Regions from separate parts of the Homo sapiens genome. Here regions 2 and 3 are each linked to region 1. Evidence: promoter capture Hi-C in human tissues and cell types (Jung and others, 2019). All regions are on one chromosome and are shown on one strand. Each heading gives the region's core, a stretch centred on a gene start or on the middle of the fragment in contact. The rest is flanking DNA. Distances are from core to core; before and after follow the strand shown. Region 1 holds the start of ATP11A (ATPase phospholipid transporting 11A). Region 2 has its middle 140 kb from the start of LINC02337. Region 3 has its middle 120 kb from the start of LINC02337.

The links. Contacts are between HindIII fragments. The study calls those that stand out against the background at their distance.
Region 2: a contact is called between a fragment that was not itself captured here and the fragment with the promoter of ATP11A in region 1, in 1 of the 25 tissues and cell types used here (lymphoblastoid cells).
Region 3: a fragment that was not itself captured here is called in contact with the fragment with the promoter of ATP11A in region 1 in 1 of the 25 tissues and cell types used here (dorsolateral prefrontal cortex).

The regions. Positions count from the first base shown.
Region 1 is chr13:112,688,788-112,693,419 of GRCh38, forward strand. It overlaps ATP11A (ATPase phospholipid transporting 11A), which reads left to right and starts at 1,251. Exons shown (of 30, transcript NM_015205.3): 1 at 1,251-1,668. The coding sequence starts at 1,630. It overlaps LOC102725228 (a long non-coding RNA gene), which reads right to left and starts at 1,028. Exons shown (of 2, transcript NR_187633.1): 1 at 876-1,028; 2 at 1-82. RefSeq lists enhancers at 88-605, 2,904-3,405 and silencers at 854-1,783, 1,804-2,043. The HindIII fragment of the contact is 4,763 bases long and covers 1-3,785 here.
Region 2 is chr13:111,458,610-111,463,241 of GRCh38, forward strand. No RefSeq gene overlaps it. Among named protein-coding and RNA genes, the nearest start is that of LINC02337, 140 kb to the right of the region's middle. The HindIII fragment of the contact is 5,092 bases long and covers 1-4,632 here.
Region 3 is chr13:111,478,518-111,483,149 of GRCh38, forward strand. No RefSeq gene overlaps it. Among named protein-coding and RNA genes, the nearest start is that of LINC02337, 120 kb to the right of the region's middle. The HindIII fragment of the contact is 4,140 bases long and covers 692-4,632 here.

The DNA of each region.
Region 1 (4,632 bases), core at 1-2,500:
CAGCAGGTTGTCCCTGTGGGTGAAGATCCACTGAGGGGGACCGCCAGCTTCCTGAGCACAGGGCAGGCCAGAGCAGGACAGGCTGGGATGGAAAATGAAGAATCAGTGCTTTAGCCGACAACAAATGGGAGCCGTTTACTGTTTAGTCACTATGATTAGTGTTCACTAGTACTCATTTCTCTTCGTCTAAAAAGTGGCCAACACCATCTCTTTTCCACAAGCACTCGGGAGAACATTCATATTCAATTGCCTTCCTAAGACCCAGACGGGGCAGCGCTCTCCACAGGCCACCAAAAGGTGTTGCCTGTTTGGTTTCATCAGTGATTATCTGTGGCAGCAAGACAGGAAGTTGGAAATCAAGTACCTCAATTAAGTCAAGGCTGACCGTGGAATTAGAGAACAAGTGTTTGTTACCCCGGCCAGGTCACCCTAGGGAAAACAGGCATTCTCCGGGATTGAAATGGTGGTGTTTGTGTGGTAAATAGTTCTCAGTCCAGTTCAAAGCCAGCAGCATTAAGGACACGCCACCGCCACCGGGAGCTGGAGACCAGGCGAAGCTGAGCTCCTCTGTGGTTCACCAACCCCTCAGGCCGCCTAAGTGTCTTCTGCTGTCGCAGCTTTGGGGACAGAGGGGTTTCGGAAACAGGGGCCTCTTGTCTGCACCCTCCCCTCCCACTGACAGGCTGGCAGCCCAGGGCAGCCACCTGAGGAGCGTCCCTGTGTCTCTCCATCTGCAGAGCAGGAAAAGCCTGCGGGTCGGTGGCGCCACGCTGGGGCGAGACCCAGCTTCGGCTCAGGAGATCTCCCACCCAGCCGGACTCCCGCTCTCTGCCCGCGGCCCCCTCCCACACTCCCACCTCGCCCCGCGATCTCACTGCCCCATCGAGGCTTCCGGGCGGAGGAGAAAAGTTTTCCGGCAGGAACCCGGGAAGGAAGCCCTGGGACCCTGGCTGAAACTCCGGGTTTCCCCAGTGCCGAGTCCCTTCCCCGCCGCGCCCAGCGCCTGCGCCCCGGGAGGCGGAAGCAACAGGGGGGTTCCTCCCCGCGGCCTCTGACCTCTGCCCTCTGCCCTCTGCCCCCAGGGTCTGGGGCCCGGGCGGAGGCGCGAGGGGGCAGGGCCGGCGCGCGGGTGCGAGCGCGGGTGTGGGCGCGGGGCCGGCGGGGGCTGCGGCCGCGGGGCGCATGCTCACTTGCGCCGGTGACGTGCGCGCCCGGAGCAGGGGCAGGAGCCAGCGGGGCCCGGAGGCTCCAGAGGGCGGCGGGCAGGGGAGGAGGAGACTCGGGAGGAGCAGAGCGCAGGCTCCGCCGCGGCCGGGGTGCTCCAGCCGAGCCCAACCGAGCGGGCGGACCGACGGGGAGAGAGAAGGCGCCAGAGCGCGCGCGCGCGGCCCCGAGCAGCAGCCTTGCCGCCAGTGGAGCAGCTGCCGACGCGCGGGGCCGCGGACCCAGCATTCGCCGGCCGGGCCGGGCATGAGCGCGGAGGGGCCGCGGCCGCCCCCTGCACCGCCCGGCGCGCCGAGGCCGTGACCGGAGCGGGGGGCGCGGCCGCACTAGTACCCCGGAGCCCATGGGCGCGCCGAGCCGGGCGCGGGGGCGCTGAACGGCGGAGCGGGAGCGGCCGGAGGAGCCATGGACTGCAGCCTCGTGCGGACGCTCGTGCACAGATACGTGAGTGCTCCCGGCGCGGGCTGGGGGACCCGGGGACCAGACAGACGCGGGCCGGCCCCGCAGCCCGGACCCTGTGGCCGGTCCAGCCCCGGGGTCCCGGGAGGTCTCCGATGTCTGGGACTCGGACCGCCCCCGGGGACGAGCGGGATGCTGGGGAGGGGCCTCGGAGTTGACACCCTGGGGCTTCCGACGGGGTCTAGGTGGGCACAGCGCGGGGCCCCAGCCCCGGGCGGCCACCTGCTCCCTGGCCGCGGCCGCCTGGCGCCCCCTTCCCGCCCGCAGCGCCCTGGGGGTCCCTCGGAGAGGCTGGCTGGGGTTCGAGCTGTCCCGGCGGACCGGGCGCCCGGAGGGAGCCAACTTCGACCCCGCCGGGGCCCGGGTCTGGGGAGGAACCTTCAGATGCGGCTTCCGCGCAGCCGTGTCTGTAAGATTAAGGGATTGGGAGGAAGCGTTACACTTCTGCAGAAAAAGGTAGCAATTGTGTTTGTTCTTTAACACCCCTGGGGGATTCAGAAGCGGAGTTTGGAATCTTTTTATTTTTTACCTTAAAGTAACCAATTAGATCAGAAGTCCGGGGTCTTCTTGGGTTCCTCTGGAATTTGCCCCTTCAGTGATAAGCAAGTGAAGAGCTCAGGAGGGAAGACTCGGAAGGGGAAAAGTTGATTTTGTTTTACACCAGAGGAGGGGAAACCGGAATCCCTGGCGTTAGGTGTAAAAAGGGGTGTGTGGCCGGGCGCGGTGGCTCACGCCTGTAATCCCAGCACTTTTGGAGGCCGAGGCGGGCGGATCACGAGGTCAGGAGTTTGAGACCAGCCGGACCGACATGGTGAAACCCCGTCTCTGCTAAAAAATACGAAAATTAGCCGGGCGTGGTGGTAGGCGCCTGGGATCCCAGCTACTCAGGAGGCTGAGGCAGGAGAATCGCTTGAACCCGGGAGGCGGTGGTTGCAATGAGCCGAGATCGAGCCACTGCACTCCAACCTGGGTGACAGAGCGAGACTCTGTATCAAAAAAAAAAAAAAAAAAGGGTGTGTGTGTGTGTGTGTGTGTGTAGGAGAGGAAGAAAACTGTCCCAAGCACAGCGTTTCCTGCCACTGTCTTGCACAAGAGGCTTCATTGTTCCATAGAGGCTGGCGGTCACTGGTCAATCACAGGTTCGAGAAGTCGCATGCACCGGGTTTGATACTAGAGAGGGCAGTATTATGGGAACTTTGTTCTTTCCCGGCATAGGAATTACCTCAGGCAGCCTTTCATATTTATGAGCCTTCTTTAAATAGGAGACCTTGGCCAAAGATAGATAGGTTTCTTTTCAGTGGGGGATGCCAGATCAATGCTTTCCCCCGGATTTATTTATTAACCAAAAACCTCGGAGAGTCAAGGAGACTTGAGTGCACCTTACATCGTTTCCTGATCTCGGGGAAGCCTTAGGAAGGTCAGCCTGACTTACTTAAGTGGAGAGAACTCACCCCTGGTGATTCTGATGATTCCGATGCTAGATCTTGAAAGGCTTGGCTCCAGGAGCCTTGTGTTACTCCCTCACTGGTGCTCGAGCCCCCAGTTCAAATCCTAATGTGAGTGGTAAACCTGTGTTTCACTGTGGTAACGTTATAGAAGACCCAATCACAGTGACTATAGGTAACCTGCAGTGTAAGAGAAATGCTTTATTGGGCGGAAGCTTCTGTTCTCAGTTGTGTCGCTCAGAAGTGTGGGTCCCTAGACACCTTATTTTCCTGCTTTGTTTCCTTCGAGCGAAATGGAAGAGGGAAGGGACTAACACTCACTTTGCCCGCGGTGTTCCCAGTTCATTCCGTTCCCTTCTAACACTCAGTGTTAAAAAGGAGGGTCACGTTGTGGGGCTAATGTGCAGCCTCTTTCCATAGAAATGAGAGATGGATGGGCCAGCCCGGCTCACCCTTTGGAGAATCCCCCCTTCCCAGCCGGTTTCTGACCCCTTCATCTTGGGAGGGGGACAGACAGACGTCCAATTTTGATGCTTGACTCCCTTTCTCCAGGCCTTCAGCTGTTTTCTGTTATATAGATCTATATAAGTGTTTGCGTAGCTTGCATTTTTAATTCCCCTTTGCTGTATTATTACGCTTATGGCATCACATTTTCTTTTAATCTAAGCGGTAAATATTCTTTAGTGAACTTTTCCAGCATATACATTATTGGATAACGTCTCGGGAATACGAGTTGTGGGATAATATTATTTCTGTTTTTCTCATTCCACCTGTGTTTTTTGCAGTGTATTCATCTGGCTACCTCACCCATATTTACACACAGAGCCATTCATCTCTATCATTTTAAGTTCATGTCTATGGTATTAAACTAATTTGACTTTTTCCAGAAACAGTCATGATCTGTTTTCTTGTAATTGCGTTATCGTCCACTATGTAGGACTAAATTATATTTCCTTTTGCTACAGAAAAAAGAGTCTGGGATTGAATACTCATATTTCCTCATGGTTTCCTTATGTGACTTACTTTATTAAAAAGGATAGATAAATAGACCCTGTTCCTTCTTGGTGTTCACATAGTCAGAATTCCTGGGACAAAGAAAGCTTTCCAGCTCCTTCTGATGTGTGAGGGTGGCTAAAAGATAAAGAAGTCCTTGGAAAACATTGCTGTAGGCATTTTATTGTGGATTAACCCTGGAGAGATAGCAGAGGCAAATGAGTGAGAGAACAGATGAAGGTTAGGCCAGGGTAGCCAGGTACTCCACACTGTGTGTTACTGGTGGTTTGGGTGTTTGGATGGACCGGAGCCATGCAGAGATACTTTGTATTTGTAAATGGTGCCGTGTTTGTATACCATGAGGAGTGCTTGTGCTTATGGGGTAGTGTATGCTCCCTGGGGTGATGTATGTGCTCTGGGGGGCGTGGGGAAAAGCGTGTGTGCCGTGGGGTAGTGTATGTGCTGTGGGGTAGTGTATGCTCCCTAGGGTGATGTATGTGCTGTCGGGGGC
Region 2 (4,632 bases), core at 902-3,401, 1.2 Mb before region 1:
GGATCCAGGATCCTAATGGCCTTTAAACGTGGAGGGTCTTTTTTGGTGCCTGTCTTCTTAGCACCCAGCATTGAGAACCTATGAAATCTCAGAACCTCAGGGTTGGGGGCGGTTAGGCACCCTTTAGTCTCCCTCGCTAGTTCTTGACTCCCCATTGGCACAGGCAGAGCTGCCTCTAGGCGACTTGCAGTACCTGGTGCGTAGGGAAACCCGGCTGTACCAGGTGCACAGAGAACGGGAAGCCGGCTCCACGGAGGCCGTGTGTCTGCCTTGCTGGGGTCTGCACAGCGAAGACCCTCCCTGCGTTGACTGGGCCACAGGGGGATGTCTGGATGGAAAGTCTGCACAGGATGTGGGCGCTCCTCCCAGGAGGGGCAAGGCACCTGTTGGCCCCATCGGTTCATGGGTGACACTGCGCTGGGCCAGCCTCCTTGTTCCGCTGTTGGCAGCTGTCCTTTGCCGCCTCCTTCCTGGGAGTGTGGGTGTGTTTTGCTTCTGTGGATAAAGCTGTAATGAACAGACTCGATTTAGGCTGTGGCCCCTTTCTCAGTTTCCCCTGTGAAGACCCAGAATGGCCAGTGAATCCCATGAGGGTCCCGAATGGGAGGAGTGGGATTTCGGGGATCCAGTAGGAACTAGGAAGGACACAGGTGGAAATGCCAGGGCCGCAGCCAGCCTGAGGCTGCAGATGCAGGGAACTTTTGGAGGCATGACCACCTGGGATTCATGTTATTTACCTGATACTGAAAGTTATCAACCAACTGTAAAAGTTATTTATATTTTATAGTCCAGATTTACACATCCTGTGCACATATGTGGTGCAAAAAAACAAGATTTTCAAATTTCACGGGTAAGAAAGCTTAGGTTCATATAAGAAGTGATTGACAAAAACGTTATAGGGAACAAGAGAAAGGGAAGAGCATGTTTTCTGTTTTGAACTTGTGTTCCTTGTGAAATAACTCATGAAAGCTTTAGAGGGAAAGGAGGAGTGGAGGAGGGGTGTGTGTGAGAGAGAGAGGGGAGGAGGAGGGAGAAAGAGAAAGAGAAGGGGAGAGAGAGAAGGAGAGGGGGAGGGGGAAGAGGGAGAGAGAGCGGGAGAGGGGAAGAGAGAAGGGGAGAGAGAGAAAGGAAAAGAGCGGCAGGGAGTGGGGGAGAGGGGAAGAGAAGAAGGGAGAGGAGAAGGAGACGAAGAGAGAGAAGGGAGGGGGAAGGAGAAGAGAGGAAGAGCAGGAGAGAGCGGGGAGAGGGGAAGAGAGAAGGAGGGAGAGAGAAGGAAAGGGGGAAGGAGAGAGACAGGAAGAAGGAGAGGAGGAGAGGGAGAAGGAGAGGAAAAGAGGGAGAGAGAGAAGAGGGGAAGAGGGAAAGAAGAGGGGAAGAAGGAGAGGAGTGGAGAGGAGGAGACAGAGAAAGAAGGAAAAGGGGAGGGAGAGAGACAGGGAGAGGGGGGAGGAAGAGGGAAAGAGGAGGAGGGAGAGAGGGGGAGAAGGGGAAAGAGGGAGAAGGAGAGGAAGAGCAGGAGAGAGGAGGAGAGAGGGAGAAGAGAGAGTGGGGAAGAAGGAAGAAAGCGGGAAGACAGAGTGAAGAGAGAAGGGGAAAGGGGCAAGGAGGAGGGATATGAGAGACATGATAAAGCTGACTTATGAGATGGGGTTCCGTATTAGGGAGGAGACCTGGTTGCTGGCCACACTGGACTGGTGTTGCTGTAAGGCCTTGTCTCGGGGCCTGGTTGCCTCCTGAGGTCCGTGCTGCTCAGGGTGGAGTGGGTCCCGGCGAGGGATCTGGGGGCTCCTGCCTGCAGCAGATTTGCTTTTCTTCGCTGCAAGTGAAGGTGGTTTGCAGTTGTGCCTTTCCCTCTGCTTGGCAGATAATGCAGGATTGTGAACCGCAGCTCAGGGCCAGGCAGGGTGAGGCCCCTCTGGTCAGCATGCCCCAGCTCAGGCTCAAGCTTCGGCCTCTCCTGTGAGGACCGGTGCAGGGATGGTTTCAGCCACAAGGCAAGGCACTGCTCAGGATATTTTTCCTAAAGAAACTGCTGGAAGCAGTTGCTGGCCTTGGGACAGGTGCTGGCTCAATGGATTAGGAACTTGTGAGGTCGTCGCCATCTAGTGAGGAGATGCTGGAACGTCCCTGTGGGCTGCTGTGGCCGACTCACCGAGCCACGAAGCCGGTGCTGCGTTTGTCTCACGCCCTTCACCACGGCAGAGATGAAGAGCTAGGATGAGTTATTGTCATCCTTCTAAGAATGTGTGCTTTCAGGCTCACCAGGCAGGTCTCTCCAGGTAGCTCCTCGCTTTTTTAAAAAGGAACACACAAACACCTTTGAGGAAGGCAATGCCAAGAAGGCACTGGCAATTGATGGGGCACGTGGTCGTGGAATCAGTTCTGAAGAACACAGTGCTGAGTGGCATTGTGGAGCCTGGCACGGGCCTGGCGAGCACTGCCTAGGTGGGTGAGCACTGTGCCTGGGGAGGCAAGCACTGTGCCTGGGCAAGTACTGTGCCTGGGTGAGCACTGTGCCTGGGCAGGCAAGCACTGTGCCTGGGCGGGTGAACACTGTACCTACATGGGTGAGCACTGTGCCTAGGTGAGTACTGTGCCTGGGTGAGCGCTGTGCCTGGGTGAGTGCTGTGCCTTGGTGAGCGCTGTGCCTGGGTGAGTACTGTGCCTGGGCGGGCAAGCACTATGTCTGGGTGAGTACTGTGCCTGGGTGAGTGCTGTGCCTGAGTGAGCACTGTGCCTGGGTGTGTATTGTGCCTGGGTGAGCTCTGTGCCTGGGTGAGCACTGTGCCTGGGCGGGCAAGCACTATGTCTGGGTGAGTACTGTGCCTGAGTGAGCACTGTGCCTGGGTGTGTGTTGTGCCTGAGTGAGCGCTGTGCCTGGGTGAGCACTGTGCCTGGGCGGGCAAGCACTATGTCTGGGTGAGTACTGTGCCTGGGCAAGCACTGTGCCTGGGCGAGGACTATGTGTGGGCGAGCACTGTGTCTGTGGGGTTGAGCACTGTGCCTGGGTAAGCCTGGGTGGGTGAGCGCTGTTCCTGGGTGCTCAGAACCTGGACTTGGTCCTCCTGCACACTCGCCTGGGACTGGTAAACTGTGGACCTTGAGCAATAGTGGAGGAGAGGAAGCGTCAAGCATGCATCACATCATTGTCAGAGAAGGTAGTGACACCCAGAGGAGAAAAGCCAGGGGAAAATGTCACATCAAAGAAAGACACAGGCTGTTTCCTCTGGGCCAAGCGTGGGCTCTTTAGAGGAAACCCTGCCCTGGAAAGGGCTTCCTCTCAGATAAAGGAGCTCCCCAAGGCTGCAGGTGTGTCCTGAGTGGTGAAGCAGGTGCATTCCCAAGGAGCTGCAGAACAGAGGTTCTGCGCCGGTGCCCCAGTGAGTCAGGGCACAGAGGCTGGGGACTCGCTCCCCACCAGGCCCTGCACAACAGCCGGTAGGGGAGGGTGGGGGGAGGAGGGGGAGGGCAGGCCGGCCCCACCTCTTCCGGTCAGTGCTGGAGGACTGCCGCCCAGTAAGAAGGGGTTAGCACAAGGGGACTGTGACCCTACACCTGGTGAAGGTGGTCAATTGTATATGTGGCTTTCACCAGCGTTTTTAAAAGGCCCACATTGGACTGGGATGGAATGGGGAGGCCCGCTTGCCTTGCACACTAAAATTGCCTCTGATATCAATTGCAGTTCACAAACCTGGGCTCAGTTTTCCCACCTAGAAAGTGGGTATCAAAGTTCTGTCCCAAGCACCTCGGAGCCAGTGGCATGGGCTGGACACTGATGGGAGGGGCGCACTCTCTGTTTGGAGCAGGATACAGACTCCAGGTGTGGACGGAGGACAGGCTGCTTTCTGCCTCTTGTCTGAGGGGTTCGCTCCGGGGTTTGTTCCTTGCCTTTCCACACCCCCGTCTTCTCTGCCAGCCTAGAGATGTCAGTCAGGTCAGCACAATGCGGCATCTTCGAGAATTTGGAGTCTGTGAAATCTAGTTTAGAAAAGTTCTGGTTGAGCCTGTGTTGTGTCTACACTTTGAATCAAACTCCAGGTAGAAGGACAGCAGCACAACTCAAACTGAGAGAAGCCGCAGCGTTCTGGGAGAAACGCAGCCATCGTCGGAACAAATGGCTTCACCAGAGCATTGCAGGGCATCTTTGAGCATTGCTGTGTGCTCCTGGGAGCTACTGAGGCTGAGGCCAAATAAATAGCTATTTATTTATAAGGGGCTTCCTCACCTGGCGGGAGGACCCCTTCCAGGATGGGGTCCCTTCAAAAGAGTGCCTGCTTGGCCAGAGGAAGCAGCCTGCATCTTTCTTTCATGTGACATTTTCTCCTGACTTTCCTAGACTGATGCCACCTTTGGGAACTGTCTGGATTCAGTCCTTTATGAGCCCATTACAGCCTTGAAGCCCTGAAAGAGCTAAGGCCACTTATGCTACATGGCCCAGGCTCTGCAATACAGTCTATTTACTTGCTGTCATTTTGAAGAATGTGGAATAAAATGATTAAATTCTGCTTTCTTCTGTGTTTTCCGAATGTGCAAGCTAAGCTAATTATTATAGTCCAGGCGTAGTGGCTCATGCCTGTTATCCCAGCATTTTGGGAGGCCAAGGCGGGTGAATAGGTTAGGAGTTCAAGACCA
Region 3 (4,632 bases), core at 1,512-4,011, 1.2 Mb before region 1:
CACTTCAGGTCAGGAGTTTGAGACCAGGCTGGCCAACATGGCGAAACCTTGTCTCTACTAAAAATATAAAAATTAGCCGGGCATGGTGGTGTGTGCCTGTAAATCCCAGCTACTCAGAAGGTTGAGGCAGGAGAATCACTTGAACCCGGGAGGTGGAGGTTGCAGTGAGCCGAGATTGTGCCACTGCACTGTAGCCTGTGTGACGAGCAAGACTCTGTCTCAAAAAAAAAAAAAAAAAAAATCCAGAATGGAAAAATCCATAGGGACAAAAATCTATAAGACAGATTAGTGATGGCTTTGAACCTGAGGGCAAGGGCAGAAGGGGGCTAGAGGGTGACAGCTGAAGGCACAGAATTCCTCTTTGTGGTGATGGAAATGTTCGAAAATGCACTGTGGTGAAGGTTGCACGTACCTGTGAATATATTTAAAAACCATTAAATTGTACACTTTTAATGAGAGAATTAATGGTATGTGAGTTATATTCCAGCTAAGCTGTTGGAGGAGAAATGTGAGGAACCCTAGACTTGGGAATGTGAAAGGATTTTAGCAACTGTGTAGCTGGGAACCTCTGTATTTGACCATGTGATGTATTAGAGAGCCCCAAACCCCTTACTAAACAAGGAGAAATATTGCACAAAATGCAGCAGACATTTTAAATGGGTAGTTCAATTCGCAAGAAAGTAGGAAAAATCTCCAAGGGCTCTGAGACGAAGAAGAAAATGAAAATCGGAGTGGTCTATAAATAAGTGGTATTTTGGCAGCCAGGGTGGGGCAGGCGGCATTGTGGGTCTCATGGTCTCAGTCACCCAGAGACCTGTGTTTTGGTCCTCCCCAAATAAACAAGTGGAATATTGAAAGCAATGTCACTTCCCCCCCACCATAAAGCCAGGGTCCTTGCTAAAAGTTCCATTCTTGGTAAAAGCACATTCTAGAAATCATCTCTGCACTGGTGCTTGGTGGCCAGGAGGCTGGACCGCAGGAGAGGATGGTGGCGTTTGGATTCCAGCCCCAGCTCCGCTCCTGCCCTGGCTGGACCGTGCTGCCAGCACAGCCTGCGGACCCCCCGAAGAGAAGTCACCCAGGCCGTCCCAGGACGGGGCATCCCCCTCTGAGGCCCTGCAGACGCAGGCCCTAGACATGCCTGGAGGCCGCACCTCACAGGTTTCCCGCAGATCGAATCCTGCTGAAGAGGAGCTCATCCTCCCCAGATGTGAAGCCCAAGAGGAACCAACTCACCCAGAATTTGCTGAGGAAGCTGGCGTGCCGGTTCTCTTCATTTCTGAGAAATTCCAGAAGTGCTGGGTAAACCAGTGGCTTCTAAAATGTTCTGCCAAGTCTTCCATGTCCTGACGCAGAGATTGCCCATTTTCAGCGCTGAGGGGAACTCTTGTCAGGTGCGTCAAATAGGAGGAGGATGCAGGATCGTCACGTAACAGAGCCCAGAGAGAGGCAACAAGACCCAAATCTTCCCAAGAGGAAACTGAAACAGAGGTCCATGAAAACCACTGGGAAGAAGGTACGGGAAGCTTTGAAGAAGAACCAGGCAGAGCTTCCAGCAACTAGAAACACGACTTCAATCAAAACATAAGTGACGGGGTTAGAGGGGAATTGTGTCTAGCTGAAGGGAGAATCTGCTGGCATTTGAAGAAATTGCTCATGGTGCGGAGAAGCCTGGTGGAGACGGGAACTAGGAAGGGTGGCTACAGACCTGCAGGCCAGGGCGCCGTGTCCCCATGTCCCCATGTGTGTCCCTTACCCTGCACACGCGGTAGCACATGAGGCTCAGGGAGATGCTAGGGGTACCCTGGGTGGGCAGGGTGAGCCACACGTGCCCAGTTTGGAGCTTCTGAGGTCCGGTGCTCCCATCAGGAGACCAGACCCCTGTCTGTGAAACAGCAGCAAAACCTCATCGCAGGGGCTGACATCTGAGAAGCCTCCTAGGAGGCCCCCCAACTCCTTTCGAAGGGCAGGAGCACCTCTGCTCTTCTCCTTCCAAACCAACAGGCTAGTGTGGGCAGAGCCTGCACCATGAGAAAAGGAGGGGACTGACTTGTGTTTGGTAAAGAGATTACTCAGATGCATCACTTTTAGAGGATTTGCACAAAATGATGTAATAACATGTCAGCAGGGGCAGTTGGTGCTTGTCGTCAGAAGTGAAGACGATGACGGTGGTGGCCATTCCGGGCGGTGTCCATCCTGCTGCCCTGTCCGGCAGCACAGCATCCTTCTCCCATCCTGTGGGCACCTTTCTGGTATTTTGCCCCCTCCTTCTTCTGGCTCCCCATTCCTTCCTCGGCCTTTTGCAGCCTGGTTTATGAGACTCAACCAGGAGGAGAAAGCATTCTCTGAAAGTACCTTTGGATTAGAATGGGACCGCCAGGGAGAGAAGCCCAGACGGCAGGAAGTGGATGTAGGAAAGTCTTCTGGGGGGGCTCTCCTGGGATGAGGTTCACAGGGACTGTGAGTGAAGAAAGTACATGAAGAACGTGATTACCTACAACAGCCCCAGCCAAGCACAGCTGTTCACGTTGGGCCCATTTTCTAGGAGTGTGTCTAAGTGGGTGTGAAAGGAGCTGGCTTCACTCACAGACGGCCCCCGTTGCCCAGCTGCCGGGGAACATGCGCATGTGGTGAGGGTGGGCGCTGGCCAGCTAGGTGGGGATGAGTGATAGAGTCTGTAAACACGGTCGCAGGAGAGGGCCGGCTTGGCTCATTGTAAGGCAGATCTGGAGGCCCTTCCCAGCTGAGCAAACACCCACTGGGGACATTGCTGGTGCTGAAACCCCAGGAGGAACCAGAGTAAACATGATGGCCAGTTATTAAAATATGAAGTCACATCATCATTTAGGATTACGCTTCAGCATCCCCGAGTGGTGTCTGGAAATAGAGATGGTGACTGTTGGTAGCAACGTTCTCAGGTTGCTTTTGAAGCTGTGTCTGCACGGAGTTTCAGGTGCAGGCTTGGAAACAAATTAGAATCTGTCTCGGTGGGAGTGAGTAGCTATGGGTTCTATTTTATGAACACTTTCCAGGGCAGCCATTTTATACCAGCCCAAAGCAATTACAGCTGAAGAGAGAAACTTTCCAAAGGACCTCTCCCAGGATGTCAGTTACCTCATGTCATAATTAAATCTTTGCATATTTCAAACCTTGACTTTCTGTGCCCAGATCAGCACGACTTGAGTGCTTCCATGAGAAACTATTTTGCATTTTTCCTTTTGTTTAGCTGTGTGGAAATTTGAGTTCTGTAAAATGCTTATTATAAACTGGGACTTCATTTCTAAAAACTTGAAATACGCTTTCTAAAATCTCCTGCAGTTAGGCAGTTAGTAATTTTTTTTTTTTTTTTTCTGAGAAGAGTTTCGCTCTTGTTGCCCAGGCTGGAGTGCAGTGGTGCGATCTTGGCTGACTGCAACCTTTTGCCTCCCGGGTTCAAGCAGTTCTCCTGCCTCAGCCTCCCAAGTAGCTGACATTACAGGTGCCTGCCACCATGCCCGGCTAATTTTTATATTTTTAGTAAAGATGGGGTTTCACCATGTTGGCCGGGCTGGTCTTGAACTCCTGACCTCAAGTGATCCACCCGCCTCAGCCTCCCAAAGTGCTGGGATTGCAGATGTGAGCCACCGTGCCTGGCCACGTTAGTCATTCTTTTTGTGTCAATCAAATGTTACAGAAAATGTACAAGATTTTAAACAATCAGAAATCTGTAATGCTTTGTGTTTCCTGTGGCACTGGGGCTGGCAGCACATCACTGGCTCTTAGGTTGCAACAGTGACTCCTACCTCGGCCAGGGCGGGGTGGTGACGCTGGTGCTGGAGGCCAGCTCTCAGCTTGGGTTCCCCAGAACCGTGCCCATGAGGAGCCACATCCAAATGTCATGACTTGCCACAGACTCACCTTCCTGTTACCCATGGCAGGGTGTTGTAGGAGAATTAAATAAGATACTCCAAGAGCTGTGCCTACTAAGATCCCCCTGAAATTGGGCAATAAATCTTAGCAATTAATTAGTAATGGATTGGCACTAGGAAATCATAAGATTTAGGATCTAGACTCAGACCCTTGGGTTATTACTGCCTGATATGTAACAGGGGAGTGAGGAGGTCATTTCAGATGGGTAGCACCTGAACCCTTATGTCCTTGTTAGGGAAAAGATGGTAACCATTCAATGCACATTGAAGGCCAGAAGTGGAGAGTAGACTTCCTAAACAAAGGCGAGCATGATGACGCAGAGGTTGCTATCATCCAGCATGGCCTTCATCCACCATGCTGCTCCCTGGCACATTGGCCTTTCCCTATGGAGACACCATCCTGGAACCCTGGGCCAGGCTGCACAAGTTCGCACCCATCACAGACCTTCTCTAAGCCTGTAAGAGGGGAGGGACACATGCCCCCACCATCATGAGAGTTGGGTCGGGGGCTGTGTGCGGACCTTGGGGCAAGGAGCTGGCTGAGCAGGTGTGAGTCTGCAGCTCCCGGGGCCAGGCTCAGCCGCTATGCACCTCGCTCGGTGCAGGGGGGTGTGACTCAGCAGGAGTGCGTTGCTTTGGGACTTTATTTTCAGGAGAAGCTTCCAGGGGGGAAGCCCAGAGTAGTGGGTGAAGGAGCTGAAGAAAGGTGGGTTTTGGTGACTGC